3 separate regions of the Homo sapiens genome follow, and regions 1 and 2 are each linked to region 3. Evidence: promoter capture Hi-C in human tissues and cell types (Jung and others, 2019). All regions are on one chromosome and are shown on one strand. Each heading gives the region's core, a stretch centred on a gene start or on the middle of the fragment in contact. The rest is flanking DNA. Distances are from core to core; before and after follow the strand shown.

The links. Contacts are between HindIII fragments. The study calls those that stand out against the background at their distance.
Region 1: a fragment that was not itself captured here is called in contact with the fragment with the promoter of THEMIS2 in region 3 in 1 of the 25 tissues and cell types used here (spleen).
Region 2: a contact is called between a fragment that was not itself captured here and the fragment with the promoter of THEMIS2 in region 3, in 2 of the 25 tissues and cell types used here (bladder and dorsolateral prefrontal cortex).

The regions. Positions count from the first base shown.
Region 1 is chr1:28,211,853-28,215,341 of GRCh38, forward strand. It overlaps DNAJC8 (DnaJ heat shock protein family (Hsp40) member C8), which reads right to left. Exons shown (of 9, transcript NM_014280.3): 3 at 3,088-3,144. Among named protein-coding and RNA genes, the nearest start is that of DNAJC8, 19 kb to the right of the region's middle. The HindIII fragment of the contact is 6,266 bases long and covers 1-3,489 here.
Region 2 is chr1:28,161,963-28,165,160 of GRCh38, forward strand. All of the region lies in intron 1 of PTAFR (platelet activating factor receptor), which reads right to left. Among named protein-coding and RNA genes, the nearest start is that of PTAFR, 13 kb to the right of the region's middle. The HindIII fragment of the contact is 3,366 bases long and covers 1-3,148 here.
Region 3 is chr1:27,870,942-27,874,209 of GRCh38, forward strand. It overlaps THEMIS2 (thymocyte selection associated family member 2), which reads left to right and starts at 1,603. Exons shown (of 6, transcript NM_001105556.3): 1 at 1,603-1,724. The coding sequence starts at 1,631. RefSeq lists a silencer at 1,451-1,720. The HindIII fragment of the contact is 20,371 bases long and covers 1-3,268 here.

The DNA of each region.
Region 1 (3,489 bases), core at 860-3,359, 340 kb after region 3:
GTTAAATATATAGTCAGTGTCTGCCAGGAGCAGTGGCTCCCGCCTGTAATCCCAGCACTTTGGAAGGCTGAGGCTGGCAGATCACTTGAGGTCAGGAGTTCGAGACCAGCCTGGCCTACATGGTGAAACCCCGTCTCTACTAAAAATACAAAAATTTGGCAGGCACAGTGGCACACATCTATAATACCAGCTACTCAGGACGCTGAGGCAAGAGAATCACTTGAACTCAGGAGGTGGAGGCTGCCGTGAGCCAAGATCGCAACACTGTACTGCAACCTGGGTGACAGAGCCGGACTCCGTCTCAATAAATAAATAAATATATATATATATATATATATATATATATATATATATATATATATAAATGAAATTAACTATTCAATATAGATGGTGGATACATGAATATTCGTTGTTCTATTCTTTTTTTTTTTTTTTTTTTTGAGACAGAGTGTTGCTCTATCATCCAGGCTGGAGTGCAATGGTGCTATCCCAGCTCACTGCAGCCTCAATCTCCTGGACTCAAGTGATCCTCCCACCTCAGCCTTCTGAGTAGCTGGGACTACAGGCACGGCTAATTTTTGGCTTTTGCTGTTGTTGTTTTTCGTTTTTTGTAGAGACGGGGTTTCACCATGTTGCCCAGGCTGGTCACGAACTCCTGAGCTCAAGCAATCTGCCCGACTCAATGTCCCAAAATACTAGGATTACAGGCATGAGCCACTATGCTTGTCCATTCTTTTTTCTATATAAAATTTTTATAATAAACCAGCTAAAAAAAAAAGAACTTTCATAGGTAATTCAGATACTCACAGTTAAAAACCATGACATATTGTCAATTGACAGAAACCAACTAGTTGGAACCCAGGGAACTATGTCGGGGAATGAGAACAAATGGGAATCTAACGCTCCGTTCAGCATTACTGGAACCATTATGCTGGGTTCTAATTCCAACTTCAATCACCTACTAGCTATGAGACCTCGAGCAAATCACTTAACCTATCTCTGCCTCCGCTTCCTGCTCTGTAAATGAGATAATACTATGTACCTATATCTAATTGGGCTGATATAAGAATGAAACAAACAATGCAAGTAAAGAAATTAGCAGACTAACACACGCTGACAATAGTTAGCATATAGTGAGGATACATTATGTGCCAAGAGTTACTCTAAATGCCTTCTGTGTAATACATCATTTAAATTCTTACAACAAACTCATGGGATAGACACCATTATTACATTTTACAAACGGGGTAACAGACACGGAAAGGTTAAATGTAACTTGCTCAAGTTTACACTGCTTGTTAAGTGGTACAGTCAAGATTTAAACTAGTTGTATAGCTCCAATATGCACACTCTTAACTATCAGTCCATATTAATGATTTATTAAGAATTCTTAACTCTTATTATTTATGTAGCTACATAAAAAATTGTTTTGACTATGAACTTAAATGCTTATTAATATGGGAATGATTAGTAATGCATATTAGAAAATTTGAAATTTTAGAAAAAGGAAAAAGCTAAATATAAGTATAGAGTAGAGCTTAGGAAGGAAAAAAAAAAGCTATAAAGTTATATAATGGGATATGATTACGTAGACCAAGTTAAAAAACATCTTGGCTTAACTGTAGATCAGAAAATGACTATGAGTCAGCAATATGGGGAAAATTACTGTACTGAAGAAACAAGCACACCACTGGATATTAACAAGTATCTCATCAGAAGCTGAAAATTACATTCAGCTCTGGTCAGACCCTATTAAAATATGAAGTACATAAGACTATAAAGAAGCTAAGGAAAGTTTTTTTAAAAGACATGGAATATATAGAAAATCCAATTTGCAAAGGCAAATTATAGGGACTACGATTATTCAACTCAGAAAAAAAGGTAGCCAGGCACGGTGGCTCATGCCTGTAATCATGGCACTTTGAGAGGCTGAGGCCAGCAGATCGCTTGAGCCCAGAATTGAGACCAGCCTGGGCAACATGGCGAAACTCTGTCTCTACAAAAAATACAAAAATTATCTGAGCATGGTGATGCACACCTGTAGTCCCAGCTACTGGGGAGGTTGAGGAGGGAGGATTGCTTAAACTCAGGAGGCACAGGTTGCAGTGAGCCAAGATCACACCACTGTACTCCAGCCTAGGTGACAGAGTGAGACCCTGTCTCAAAAAATAATAATAATTTTTAAGAAAAAAAGGCTGGGGGGAGGGTTACTCAGCTGTCAAAACTGGAAGGATTTTTTTTTTAAGTTTACTTTAAAACTTTGTAGTTCCAGTTATTAAACCTACGAATGGGCAAGATTCAGAAGCTATAGATCTCCTTTCCTGGAGAACTTTCAAAAAGCACTCTTTATACCAGTTATCTCTTAGGTATTCATTTAAGTTGGCAAAAGATAAAATTACGGCCGGGTGCAGTGGCTCACACCGGTAATTCCTGCATTTTGGGGAGGCTGAAGCAGGTAGATCACTTGAGGTCAGGAGTTCGTCACCAGCCTGGCCAACATAGGGAAACTCTGTCTCTACCAAAATACAAAAATTAGCCGGGTGTGGTGGCATGCACTTGTAATACCAGCTACCTGGGAGGCTGAGGCAGGAGAACTGCTTGAACCCAGGAGGTGGAGGTTGCAGTGACCTGAGATCATGCCACTACACTCCAGCGTGGGCGACAAAGCAAGACTCTGTCTCGAAAAATAAGAATAAAAATAAAAGATAAAATTACAGACAAATGGAGTCTTAAAGATAAAAATGTGCTATGAATCATTTGATATGTTCCCTCCTAGAAGACAGGGGGTTTGGTAGTTACAACTCCATGCAAGCTCTATTATTCTACTTTATACTTATCCCTCTTAATTAAGGAGTTGCAGAGATTCTATTTGGATATAAAATTCATTCTATTCATAGGTAAGCTATGGTCATTAAATTATTTAAGATTTTATATATTATTATGAGCTTTTTTTTACAAAACAGTTACACAGCCTTAAAAAAAAGTTAAATTTTGGCCCAAACATATCAAGTCAATAATAGCAAGTGATAAAAGAATCATGTGCTTCATACATTTTCAAAAAGTTCAAACAGGGAAATAGTACTGTACCTGCCGAAACCTCTTTTTTATTTCTTCATCTGTAACTTCAGGATCTATCTGAAGAACCTGGAAGTATCAAAATCAAAACCATAAAAAAGGTGAAAATAAATTACATGTATATTTAAGAGTTGCTCAGTAATTATATATATTATAATCAGCATCTAGAATAGTACCCCATGTTCTAGAACACAGGCTGGCACACAGTTCTAGAAATTGCTAAAGAAATATGAATGATCAAATCAACAGAATAACAATTATATTGTCTTATGGTACTCAAATAACATAATGCTTATTTTCATCATAAAAATAATAATTTATTTTACACCCAGAGACATTTTTACATGAGAAAATTTTGCATTTCTCCTTCATTCATTAAAAGAGTTTAACTCCCCCTCCCTTTATTTTTGCAAA
Region 2 (3,198 bases), core at 216-2,715, 290 kb after region 3:
ATTTCATCATGTTCTGAAGTAGGAACAAGAAACTGAAAGGTTGGTGTGGCCCTAGGGGAGTGAGAAATGGGAAGAGTGGGATGTGATCAGAGGACACCTGGCTGCAGATCACTCCTGAGCCATGGTAAGGAGTTGGGATTTTATTCTGTGAGCCTCGGAGAGCTGCTTCAGTGTCGCTAAGCAGGCAAGTAACATGATCGGACTCGCTCTAGCTGTCAGGTAGAGAATAGATGGTAGGGAGCAAGCGTGGAAACAGCAAGAGCATTTTGGAGGTCAGAGATGGTGGTGGCATGGACCAGAAAGTGGCATTTTCAATTCCTCTCCCCGTCCCCTGTACTCAGGGAGCTTGGCTGGGGCAAAAGTTTGGTAAACATTTGTCAGGTGAACAAACACCCAGCAACCGACAGGATTGCCTACTCCCCAGACAGAGCAGCTGCCACACAAGGCAGAGTGAGCCCTCTACAAACTCAGGACTCAAACTGTGGTCCTTGGACGAGCAGCATTGGCACCACCTGCAAGCTTGTTAGAAATGCAGAATCTTGGGTCCCACCCCAGATCTCCTGTATCAGAATCTGTATGTTGGCCGGGCATGGTGGCTCACGCCTGTCATCCCAGCAGTTTGGGAGGCTGAGGCAGGTGGATCACTTGAGGTCAGGAGTTCGAGACCAGCCTGACCAACATAATGAAACCCCCTCTCTAATAAAACTACAAAAATTAGCCAGGCATGGTGGTGGGTGCCTGTAATCCCAGCTACTCTGGAGGCTGAGGCAGGAGAATAATTGCTTGAACCCAGGAGACAGAGGTTGCAGTGAGCCAAGATCACACCACTGCACTCCAGCCTGGGCGACAGAGCGAGACTTTGTCTCCAAAAAAAAAAAAAAAAAAAAAAAGACTCCATATGTTAATAAGATTCCCAGGCGATTCGTGCACGCACCGAAATCTGAGACATGTTGTACCCCAACAACTGCCAGCCACACACTTGCCTGGGCTAACATCTTCCGTGGCTCCCCTGGCCCAGGATCAAGTCTAAGCTCCTTTCCCATCTTATTTTCCACCATTCCCCGCTACTCATTTTCTACTCTTGCTGCACTGAATTTCTCGCTGCTTCCCTAAAAACTCCATTTTTCCTCAAATCTCTTTGCCTTTCCAGCAGCCTGCTTTTGCCTATTGCTTTACCTAGAAAAATCTTACTCATCTTAAGACCTAATCTGAAAAAGCACTTCCTCTGGGATGCCTTCCCTGATCGCCACAGGCAAAATGAGTTGCCTTCTTCTCTGGGTCCCTATGCACTGGGCGCATTCCTCAGTCTAGCACCTGATACAGTATGTTTTAAGTATTAATTTCTGTGGCTGTTTCCTTGTCAGACTGGGCACTTCCTGAGGGCAGGGACTAGATCTTTTTCATCTCTTCAATCCCAGTGTCGGGCACCGAGGAATGAATGGATGAGTGGCCATGCCCTGATGATGGCTCCGAAATCCCCGGCACAAAGGAAGTGTGCACAGTCTCCCCAGGGGAGCTGTACTGGGGTGGAGTGGGTTAGGGAGAACAAGGTCTCTGGAGTCAGAAAGGTCTACAGGTTCATACCTGGCTTACCATTTACTTGCTGTATGACCTGGGGCAAGTGACCTCGCCTCTCTAACCTTCAATGTCTTCATTTGCAAAATCTTACAATCCTAACAATGGTTTCAAAGATAAGTATGCAAAGTGGCTGGAACAGGACCTGAGCCACAAATGACCAAGCCTCCCTCTCCCCACTGGCCCAGCTGCTTGGAGCCAGGGGAGGGGACTGTGGGCCAACATTGACCTAGGGGCTTTGACCTACACACTGGCTTTCCTGCCAGCTCCAGATAGAGCCTCCAGCTAATGGCAACAAAGCTTTCAACAGCTCAGGAAGAGGATGAACATTTGGAAAGAAAAGAAGAGGCTCAGACCACTCAGTTTAACACATGGGCACAGTTCCCTGATGGATCGAGGCTGGGCAGCTGGCCCAGGCACAGCCTTCAGCTGGGGGTGGGGTAGAGAGGCCATAAATATTCATGAGACAGAAGAATTCTGCTGTCTGGATCTGGTACCCTTTTCCCTGTGCAGCATTCGGCCCTCATCCCTGCTGGAAACATTCCCAGTCCCTAGGGAACCTGGAGAAGGGGTTCTCATCCATAGCTGGACAGCCAGAGAGGAGGGACCATCGGGAGATGGACAGAAGGAGGTATGTGCTGGTTGATTTCCCAGGCCAGATTGTGGGTTGGGAAGTTGGGTTCACCAGTCCTGCTAGCTCTTAACATTTGTGGGGCCAGTTGAGGTCAAAAGTACAAAATTCTAAATATTTATAAGCTATAAATAAGATACATCCAAGTTCATCCACAGCTCCTGCACCAGCAGTTCCTTGCAGCCCCGCAGGCCTGAGGGTGCATTCACCAACAGGGCAAGGACTAGAAGTGGTGAAGGCGGGGGAACACCACATTCCAAGTGGGCACACTCTCTTGGATCCAAGTACTCCTTGCTCTGTGGGGATCATGAGGCTGGAGCCCCCCTAATTTCAAGACACTGGGCACCATTTACTGGTATACAGTACATCTTGCCTATGATCATATTTCCTCCTCAGATCATCTTCGTGAGGCTGGTTTTACAAGATACCTAATTTTCTAGGGGTAAAAAGTGAGACTAGAGAAGAAAATAGATTTGTCCATAGTCACACAGCGGGGAAGTGGCAGACTTGGGATTTTGAACTCCAAGGTTCATTCTGACTCTCCTAGAACAAGCTGTGTCCCCTGCTAGAAGCAAACTGCTCCTTGGCCAGCTTGTCCACTCACAGACCTGTCTTACAGCCTGAGAATGGGAGCTCCAGATGCTGTGAGGCCCCAGGAAGAGATGCCTTTGACCTGGGGCCCTGCTTTTACCTTTGTTCCTCAAAGCTGGGAAGGGAATGCGACAAAGGGATGGCATGACCTGCTCTGTATCCATCTGACTCCCGCCTGGTAGGGCGAGAGCTGGGTCAGATCCTGGTTCAACCACTAAGCTCATCCTGTGATTCTGAGTCTCTGTTTCCTCATTTGTAAATGAAGATTTTTATATGGACTAAGAGAAAAGGATATTAAGAAAACAATCTTATTTACAACAGTATTCAAAAAAAATAACATACTTAGAAATAAACTTAACCAGCCAGGCACGATGGCTCATGCCTATAATAATCCCAGCACT
Region 3 (3,268 bases), core at 353-2,852:
TACCCAAGCTGGAGTGTAATGATGCAATTTCGGCTCACTGCAAACTCCACATCCCGGGTTCAAGCGATTCTCCTGCCTCAGCCTCCTGAGTAGATAGGATTACAGGCACGTGCCACCACGCCCAGCTACTTTTGTATTTTTAGTAGAGCCGGGGTTTCTCCCTGTTGGTCAGGCTGGTCTCGAACTCCTGACCTCAGGTGATCTGTCCAACTTGGCCTCCCAAAGTACTGGGATTACAGGCGTGAGTCATTGTGCCCAGTAATTTTTTTGTATTTTTAGTAGAGACAGGGTTTTGCCATATTGGCCAGGCTGGTCTTGAACTCCTGACTTCAGGAGATCTGCCCGCCTCACCCTCCCAAAGTGCTAGGATTATAGGCGTGAGCCACCGCGCCTGGCCTTATTTTATTTTATTCTTTTTTTTAAGAGACAGGGTCTTGCTAGTTTGCCCAGGGTGGTCTAGGACTCCTGGTCTCAAGTGATCCTCCTGCCTCAGTCTCCCAAAGTGCTGGGATTACAGGCCACACCCAGCCTCTTCTCCCTGTTTTTTTGTTTTTGTTTTTGTTTTTTGAGACGGAGTTTTGCTCTTGTTGCCCAAGCTGGAGTGCAATGGTACAATCTCGGCTCACTGCAACCTCTGCCTCCCAGGTTCAAGCGATTCTCCTGCCTCAGCCTCCCGAGTAGCTGGGATTAGAGGTGTGTGCCACCACGTCTGGCTAGGTTTTTTTGTATTTTTAGTAGAAACGGGTTTTCACCATGTTAGTCTGGTCTCAAACTCCTGACCTCAGGTGATCCACCCGCCTCGGCCTCCCAAAGTGCTGGGATTATAGGCGTGAGCCATTGCGCCCGGCCCTCTTCTCCCTGTTTTAGAGAGTAAGAAACTGAGGTTCACACAATCAAAGTGATTTGCCTAACGTCATACAACGAGCAAGAGGAGACCTGGGATTTGAACCTATGTTGGTCTGACTCCTGAGGGACAGGGAAATGGAAAAGGCTTATCCCGAGCCTGTGGGGTCAGGATAAGTGGTTGGTCCGGCTTCTAAGCAGATTTCTCTTTAGCCTTAGGAAGAATTTTTAACTAGAATTGGTGAGGCCCGGCGTGGTGGCTCACAGGTGGATCACACCTGTGATCCCAGCACTTTGGGAGGCCGAGGTGGGAGGATCACTTGAGTCCAGGAGTTCGAGGCCAACGTAGACAATAATTATCGAAAGAGTATGGGAGTTCTGGAGAGGTAATGAGATCCCCTTCACCAGGAGGTTTCCGATAGAGGACCATGGAGTGTCCTGGAGGGACATTCGGGAGCCCTGACACTACATCTCCCTCCTCAAACCCAAAGGGCAGAGGCATGTCCCTCCTATGAGACGCAGAACAAGTCGGGCCGCGTCCCCTTTTTCTAACTGGGAGCACTGCTGAGGGGGCGTCTGGGACTTCTTCATCTTCATCATCGCCCCTTCCCCATAGGGTACTGCAGGGGGCGGGGGGCGGGGCTTCGGCGGGGCGGGGCTGCAGGGCTCCCGCGGGCTGGCGGGGCGGCTTCGGCGTGCGGGGCGGGGCATCGGCGGGGCGGGGCTGCAGGGCTCCCGGGGACCGCCCGCCCGCCCCTCAGTCTGAGCCCAGAGAGCCGCGGGGACCATGGAGCCGGTGCCGCTGCAGGACTTCGTGCGCGCCTTGGACCCCGCCTCCCTCCCGCGCGTGCTGCGGGTCTGCTCGGGGGTCTACTTCGAGGGTGAGCGGGGGCTGGAACCCCTCCGAGCACTCCCTTGGTGTGGGGCGGGGGCAGAGACCCGGAGAAGACGTTAGCAATCCGGGGAAACTGCCCCTGGGTTCAAATCCCGACACTGCCACTGGCCAAGCTGTGTGATTTGGGGCCGCACTCAACCTCTTTGGACCTCGGCTTTTGCTTTCGTGGAACGGGGACCGCTGACCTGCCCCGCAGGGTAGTGATGAAAAGTCAGTGGGTTGAGGCGCGGGAGGTGGATGCAGCCGGGCCACTCCTAGGTGGCCCCGCGGTGCGCATGGGACAGAGCTCCGACCGCGCCGGGACGCAGCATTAGGCCGCTGGTGGTCGTGGCTGCGTCTTGATTCTGAAGTGCAGGGTCAGTCTTCCCGTCTGTGTCCTCCCACTCCTCCCCCGGCCCTCCTCTACACTGCCTTCCTTCAGTCCCTGCGTCCACCTTGGCCTTCTGTTTGACCATGGGCAGTACTTGATTTGATCAGCTCTTCAGTTCTCAGCTTAAATGGCGCTTCCTCCCGGAAGCCTTCCTGGCTCTCTGCTCCTTGCACGCCCCCGTACATCTGCCGTCTGCCCGCAGCGGCCTGGTTCACAGGGATGGGCACACAGCAGGCGCACAGTCACTAGTCATTGCCTGAAGGAGCAAGCGGTGAGGGAATAACAGACAGTGGAGGGCAGGGTAAGACAGCACAGTGGATGGGTGGCCAGTGCTGCTCTGTGGGCAGGGAGGACCCGTGGGCCACCGAGTAGGGGAGATGGAGGTGGAGGAGAGAGATGCTGTGTGGGGGTGCGGGTTCCTTCCTTAGAGAGCGAACTGAGGCTTGAAGGCCCTGCCCCATCCTGTTCCCTGGCTGCAGAAAAACGCTCTGTCGCAGCAGCTTCCAGCAGAGTGTTTGAGGTCCCAAGTGGGGTCCTAGACCAAGGAGGTCCCTCATGAAGGGTCCCGCAGGGGGCCACCACCTCGCAGTGGGTCTCTCCAGGTCTGCTTGGGAATCTGGCAGATCTGGGTTCAAATTCTGACTCTACCTCCAGGGGCTTTCTGCAGGAAGGCGCCTGGGATCTGTTTGCTCTTCCCCCAGCCCAGGACCAAGCGTCTTCGTCCTCCCAGCACCCTTTGCCTGCTGGTGTTACAACACCTGTTTCCTCATCCTGCCTGACGCGGGATGGTGGAAATGGTGGAAGTCAGAGTGATGGTGACTAGAGAAGGCCCTGACAGGGTGTGGGTGTGCGGATGGGGTGAGTGCGGAGGACAGATGGCCATGCCAATAGGGGCAGGCGTCTACAGGGCACTCAGAAGGGGCTGGCTGCGTGGTTGGTTAGGAGCACTGGCTCTGGAGGCAAACACCCTGGGTTCAACCTAGGTTTTTTTTTTTTTTTTTGAGACAGAGTCTGGCTCTGTTGCCCAGGCTGGAGTGCAGTGGCACGATACAGCTCACTGCGGCCTCGACCTCCTGGGCTCAAGTGATCCTCCCACCTCAGCTTCCTGAGAGGCTGGGACCACAGGCACGCACCAGGACAACGTCCAGCTAATTTTTGTA